Linked DNA regions of Homo sapiens: region 2 is linked to region 1. Evidence: promoter capture Hi-C in 16 types of primary human blood cells and fetal thymus (Javierre and others, 2016). All regions are on one chromosome and are shown on one strand. Each heading gives the region's core, a stretch centred on a gene start or on the middle of the fragment in contact. The rest is flanking DNA. Distances are from core to core; before and after follow the strand shown.

Region 1 (3,602 bases), core at 469-2,968:
ATCATGGAAAGATCTCCACAAAATGGAATGAATTTTTTAAGTTTTGATACTCTTTTAATTGTTTAATTTATCTGGAAAATTTACTCCTTCCTTGACATTGCAAGGAATGTGTGGATTGACATAACAATCTAGAGGTGTCCTATGTTCAGAATCTATCACCTGTTGCTAATTTACTTATACCCAACATCCACTGCTTTTTATCCAAATAAATTCCGTCCATCTTGCAATCTTTATGATGTCCAGTAAAGCAATAAGTGGTAGCAGTAAAGGGAACATCCCAGGGTGGGGAGCATGCCTCCCTCTCCTGTTCTCTTTCCAGGCTTGAAAGGCAGGAGGCACTACTCAGGAATACACAGTCCTCGTTTCTCAGCTGACAGGCTAAGGATCCCTCTGCTCTTATGTGAAACTCACATCTTTCTCTTCCTCCTCCTGTCCACCCCCAAAGCCCATTTTGTACAGAGGAGAGAAAGAATCTGTTCAGCACAATTAAACCACCTACACACAGACTTACCAAGCAGAAAACAAAGAATAAGGAAGAAAACATCCGCCACCACCTGAGAAATTGAGTAAGCAGTTTCCTGAATTTCTACCCGTTTTTCAGGGATAATGTCTCTTGAGGAAGCCACAGGTTAGAGCTTCTGGGTGATATAAGGTGAAGCCTTAGCAACACATATTAGGAATCCCTATAACAACAATGGGGAAAGGAAATGGTGGGGACGCTTATTATTCAGTGGCAAACTGGGGCTGCTTCTCCACAGCACTAGAAGAGAATAAAGCAACTATACGATTGAGGGGAGAGAGGATGGATTTGGAGTCAGACAGACTCCTTTGACGACTGACCAGATTGTGAGACTTTGAGGAAAGCTCTTCAGCAGCTTGAGTCTCAGTCTCTCTTTCTTTAGTATGAAGGAGCTCTGATAACAAATCGGTCACCAGCTATGGGATGGGGTGTGGTGCAAGTGCCTCTCCAGATACAGAGGTCCCTAAAGAAGGGGACAGAGGTGAGCAGCCAATCCTCAGAACAGCTGGAGGGTGGGGGATGGATATAGTCCCACAAAGGGATCTGGTGACACCTCACGGCATCCACCATGGCTCCCGTCTCCTTCCAAATCTGAATGATAAAACCTTATAGAATGCAGTGCTAGGTTCTTTGTAACTGAAATGATTTCACTTTCTTTTTTTCTTTATTCAACTTTAGTTCAAAGAAGTGACCACTCACATCACAGAACTCTCTGAGGCATGCTGGGCTAATTGACTCTATTGAGATATCCTTTGTTATGATAAAAATCTTCTATTCCCCTATACAGATGGTACCAGCCAAGAGGAAAGTCACTCGTGCCTGTGGTCAAGCTTCAGGCAATCCCAGTGACCTTGTGCTGCCTTAACTCACCCCTGTCTCCTGGGAAGAGGTGCAGAAGGGGAAAGTGCTTGGGCCTTCCTCTCAGTGACACCACTCCCCTCTTTGTGTCACTGCCTTGCTTTTGGGCTCAGCGTCATTAAAGCACTGCTGCACCTTAGTGCACACACTCCTTTCTAGGTCACTGAGACATGAAGTGAGTATCATTTGTAATATTCATACTTTTCTCTGTGAACTGGCAGGGGGATGGAGAAGGGCAAGAAAGTGGGAGCAGTGTCTGCTGGGAGGGTGGAGAATTAATTTGCATTAATTTCTCACCCTGTTAACTGGTGTGTCACTTCTCTACTCACACAGCCTCCAGTGTGGATTTAGCAATTACTTAGCTCAGCAGAGATAATGTACCCCATAAAATGGCAGAGACACTGGCCAGGGCTGGGCCCAGGAATTCAGTATGGATAATATTCTAATTCTGTATGACAAGGTAAGGCACAAACAAGTTAGCCATGTTTTTCTCTCAAAACTATATATATCTTACTAGGTATATCACAGTGTATTATATAGACATACCTATGTATGTTTATATATTTCCATAAAGTTTTCTTATCTTATTTTTGGTCTTTTCCTTTCCACTGGACTCTAAGCCTCATGAGGGTAAAGGTTTTGCCTATTTGTTCACTGTTGTAACTCCAGCACCTAGAACAATGTTTGCCCGATAGTGGACACTCTATAAGTATTTGTTGAATACCTAAATCCATATTAAGATCAACTCTTATGTTTGAATTAGTCTAGAAATTTGGGGGATGTTGGATTATATGTTCCATTTTTAAAACAAGATGTTTATAATCAAGTGACACGATTTTAAAAGAACATCATTTTAGTTGAGGTGCCAGTAAAATTCGTGAATGCTTTATGCTAAAAAAATATTGGGTTACGTGGCCTCTTACCTTCTGACTCATCGTTCTGCTTTCTTTTTCTTAGCTTTACCATAAATTTGAATCTGTAATTTCTGCTTTGATCAATTTGATGTATAAGGAGTGGAGCCAGTCAAATTTGGAAATAAAATTTCGAGGTTAGAATTCCAATTATGCCGGTGATTCACTGCATAAAACATACGAGCCTCAGTTTCCTGTAAGTGTTCATTTTGCTCCAAGCCTTCTTTTGAGGGAGGATACACACGTTGCCCAAGGCACCAAGAATAAAAACTTTCTTCCTGGGCTCTTTCCCTGTCATCAGTTTTCATCTGAAATAAAAGGAGATTGACTCCAGGATCTTCCAAGGCTGCTATTCCAAGAGCAGGTTCATAAAGGTGATTGTCAAGCTCCAGTGCAAATGCTAATAATCTGGAATTTTCCTTCAAACCATCTGCCTATGCAAAATACAACTGGGTCACACTGGAAAGGAGAGAGAGAGCTCTGATTCATATGAGAAATCAAGAATCGAACCTTCGTAAGTTCCATACTACAGAAACATAGCTAAGCATGCTCATTTTCTATTGGGATTCTGGCCTGCTATTTGAGTGTATGCAGAGGGCAGTATCCTAACTCTGGTATAATTCTACTAGTAGCTTGGTCTTCCAAAGCTTGCTCAAAGAAGATAGCATATTTAATCTACTAAATTATGTTTTAATCAAGATAGAACTCTATAAAAATAATTCTGCATGCATAAATATAGCCAACTCGTCATTTTTTTCTTTAAAGTGCCTGTGAGAATGTCCATGTCATTTTGACCACTTGAGGCTGGTAGGCTACTCTTTAATCCCCCACCAACATCGTAGCCAAGGGTTGAATTTTATGGTTTCAAAGAATCTGTTGCGGTGACCCTAAACCTTCTTATGTTATTTGTAAAATTGAGCAACCCATTAAATATCAATTTAGAAAAAAAATTAAGTACTTTGGAAAGACTGGGTGAAGTAGAATGGTTGAAAAATCTTGGTAAAGGTAAGACAATGATACGAAATTTAAAGAAGGAGGAAAATGGGACTCTGCTCTTGTTGGCTTGCAAGCATCTTTAAGTTCTTTTAGTTTTTCAAAAGCTAAAGGCAGAAATTATAGTTACTGCTTTGTGTTTTGTGCAAGAAAAATCATGCCGAAATCCAACTGGTAAACTCCTATTCCAATAATATGACCTCATATTAAAAGATTGCTGAGTAAATATGCATTGTGTTTCTCTATTTATATTTGTGAGTTAGACTACCCTTTACCTCTTTTCAGTTTTCTTCTGGAAAGGTCTATGTGAACATATATCT
Region 2 (3,602 bases), core at 563-3,062, 2.0 Mb after region 1:
ATTTCAATTAAAATTTAAAATAGATATTAAATATATGTATTAAGTGCCTTTGTACATAGAAATCTTTATTTCTATTCATATTCCTGTGTAAGAAGTACATACCTTTAAAATAAAACATAATCTGTCTAATTAAATCTTATAAAATATCAGGTGCTATCAGCATAAATGGCTGTAAAATTGATATTAATTTTTCAAAGTTTTCAAACTATTTTATATAGATACTTAGTACTTCATTGTTAGCATATCATGTAGCATTACTTTTTTTTCAAGGGGATACATCTTTTTTCCCAATAAATATTACACATAGAAATGTAAATTTTGAAGATAATATTAATGAAAAGCAAAATTAACTTTAATTAGTTTTCCGCTGTGCTTCCACTTTGCCCTGAGCGCCTGCCTCAACTGGCTCTCTTTCAGACCCTGAAAGTCTTGGCAGTTCCATGCCAAAGGGCCTGCGCCTCCTTGTTAAAAGTGCTACACTCTCCTTAAACCCCTATTCACTCTTCAGGTCACTCTCAGAGCCCCCTTCTGAGTCCTGGTACACAGTGAGCACATAAGTATATGCTGAGTAGATGAATGGGTAGATCAGTGAAAACCCGGGATAAAGTTAATGACAAATGAACCTAAGTAATTAAAGGCTATAATGATTTTTATTAAGTATATAAATAACTTATTCTAAATGAAGTATCATTTGAGTTTATTACAGTCACTGTTCATCAAAACTGACCTTGCCAGATATTTCGTGTTTGCCATGTGCCCTGTCATCTAGCTTCAGTTATGATTCTAAATCAGTGGTTTATTCTTGTGTCCTTAACTTCACCATGGCTACTGACCCATTTACATACGTGGTGTCAGTAGAAGCATATGAGTGGGAATGCAGTGTAGTTATGAAAAGCAGTTGATTTGGCCTCCAAAAAAATTTGGGTTTGAATCTGAGATTCAAATACTTGCCATACAGTAAGATCAATATACTGGTAATTTATTTGGAGCCAATACGCTCCTAACTCAAGGGGTTATTTTAAAGGTTAAATTAAATAATGACTATAAACCTAATAAAGATGACACACTTTGCACGGAGCTTGGCTTAATTCTTTTTTACTCCTCTTTTGTAAATTTATAATACCAGACGCTGATTAGGCCCTGTCTTGTTTAGTTTTAGGCACTGCACATATGTATCACTGAATTAAAAAGAACAACCACCACCACCGTTTTTTGGCTGTCTCTAGATTAGAGATCAAAACTATTTTATTGTATGAGAAAATGCATAGAGCTTAATATTGAATATTATAATGTTGATTTATCTTGAAGGGCCATGCAGTCTTAGTGGCTTGATTTTCAGATTCATTGTCAATTCTTATCGTTGGTTTCAATTTATGCCTTTCTAAAATATCTGTAATGTAATACAAACTCCACAAATCTACAGCAGAGATCTTTGACTGCTAATGCTTCTCTGATTTAAGGTTTAGAATTTCCAATGATAATTACCATAAAATAACCTTATTTTTTCCTGATAAAAGAAGTCTTTGAATTTGTGCTGTTAGCCATTCAATCATGACCCTAAAATCACTTTCCTTCTCACTCTACCTTAGATTACAAGGAAAGGCCTGAAAGACCATGTTGTTGGAGAAAGACCATTGGAAGTGAAATCTGATGGGGAGGCTAATACTAGGTCAGAAAGAGCCTAATATACACCCCCTGCTCATTCCTTTTACATTTCAGTTTTATTTTTCCTAGTCTACTCTCTGATGCATTTGAGAATACCTGCAGGCTGCAGCAAACTGAAACTGATTTCCAAATTCACAGAACACACTTACCTAGCTATGGCCATTATGTAATTTCTGAATGAGGATACTATTTTTCAGTGAGGAAATATGCAAAAGTATTATAAGACAGGTTTGTGGCAGTGAATGAACCTTGAACTTATAATCATGGCATCTCTGTAGCCTAGCACCTTTCAAAATTGCTCAGACAGGAGACTTGTTTTAACTGTTTTCTTTCTCATCTGCAAATAATGGATCCTAATATCTAGTCCACAGTGACGGTATTAGGATCAAGTGTGTTTTTATGAGGGAGAGCCTATGGCATGCATCACACACCTTCTGAACATTGTCATGTCCTGAGTGTTGCTCTGGAGTCGGAGGTACTCACTATTTGCATCCCAAGCACACAGGATGAACTGTGTGAATTCAGGCAAGGTGCTTAAACTCTCTGATCATCACCTTGTGTTTTGTTTTAGTTGTAAAATGAGGATAATAATCTGTACTTCATAAGGTTGTTATGAGAGTAAATTGCCATAAAGAAGTAATAGTACTTAAATGGACTCCATAAACTATGATAATTTCCATTATTCTTCCTCCCTTCTTTCCTTTCATTCGTATAACAAAGATGTATTAAGTTACTGTTGAGTTTCTGCTATTGGCCAGGCACTGAGTTCACCATGGTACTAAACACTGCAGATTCAAAAAGAATATTATTTCTCTTCCCCTTAAAATGTATATAGTTGGATAAGAAGAAATAAATAAGTAAAAATATAGCAGTACGTAATTACCTGTGCAACAAAAAGCTGTATGGAGTATAATGGGAACAAAGAATGGAGTGGTTAATCTTCTTGGCCAATAAAAGCCTCTTGAAAGAGAATGTAGTGTACATGTAATTTAATTAAGGAAGTATCAGAAAGGATGCAGGACTTCTGGGGCAGAGCCGAATGGGTGTAGCCACTTAGATCCTGCCCAAAGAGTGTCAACAATTCCTTAGCACACCAGTAGGAGTGAATATAACTGTCGGATTAATTTGTTTACAATGATAGGAAAATGGTTTAAGTTTACATTTCAGAGTTGAACTATAATCATTCTTAAGAGGTAGTTTTATCATTTTAATCAAATCTGGAGTTAAATAATTCTCTCTTGTCCATTATCCAATATAGGATTCTCTCATCTATTATCCAATATAGGAAACTCTCTGGGAATTCTCCTTTCCTGTTAGTTACATACACAAAATAAAGTGAATACTGTTACTCTTTCACAGTACTGGAGATATGGAGTTCAGAATTTGTATTGTTTCATAATATAAATGCAAATATGTATGCTATTTGATTCCATTTTGAGTTATGAACCAGTAAACTCTGCTTTTTTTATTGGAAAAAGAAAATATTTTATTTCAATGTAAAATTTTGTAGGCAGAAATTGAATTAATAATATTCTTGAAATTTCTACCTGAGCATAATATGCAATATATTTTTTATTATTTTTTTTTGAGACAGAGTCTCGCTCTGTCGCCCAGGCTGGAGTGCAGTGGCGCCATCTCGGCTCACTGCAACCTCCAGCATCCTGGTTTAAGCAATTCTCCTGCTTCAGCCTCCTGAGTAGCTGGGATTACAGGCACTCGCCAACACACCCAGCTAATTTTTGTATTTTTAGTAGAGATGGGATTTCACTATGTTGGCCAGGCTGGTCTCAAACTCCTGACCTTGTGATCCGCCCGCCTTGACCTCCCAAAGTGCTGGAATTATAGGCATGAGCCACAGCGCCTGGCAGCAATATGTTTTTAATAAATTCTCAGTAAATTTTTTTCAAATTATTTCAAATTTTAAAAAAAGTAATAAT

Evidence for each region. The method cuts DNA at HindIII sites, captures the fragments that hold promoters and counts their contacts. A CHiCAGO score of 5 or more calls a contact.
Region 2: a contact is called between a fragment that was not itself captured here and the fragment with the promoter of GPC6-AS1 in region 1, in 2 of 17 cell types (M0 macrophages and M2 macrophages). The highest score is 5.6, in M0 macrophages.

What each region holds. Positions count from the first base shown.
Region 1 is chr13:94,186,107-94,189,708 of GRCh38, reverse strand. GPC6-AS1 (GPC6 antisense RNA 1) reads left to right here and starts at 1,718. Exons shown (of 4, transcript NR_046535.1): 1 at 1,718-1,838; 2 at 2,336-2,485; 3 at 2,591-2,803. All of the region lies in intron 4 of GPC6 (glypican 6), which reads right to left. RefSeq lists an enhancer at 647-1,562. The HindIII fragment of the contact is 1,586 bases long and covers 1,353-2,938 here.
Region 2 is chr13:92,192,825-92,196,426 of GRCh38, reverse strand. All of the region lies in intron 7 of GPC5 (glypican 5), which reads right to left. Among named protein-coding and RNA genes, the nearest start is that of GPC5-AS2, 160 kb to the left of the region's middle. The HindIII fragment of the contact is 3,840 bases long and covers 1-3,602 here.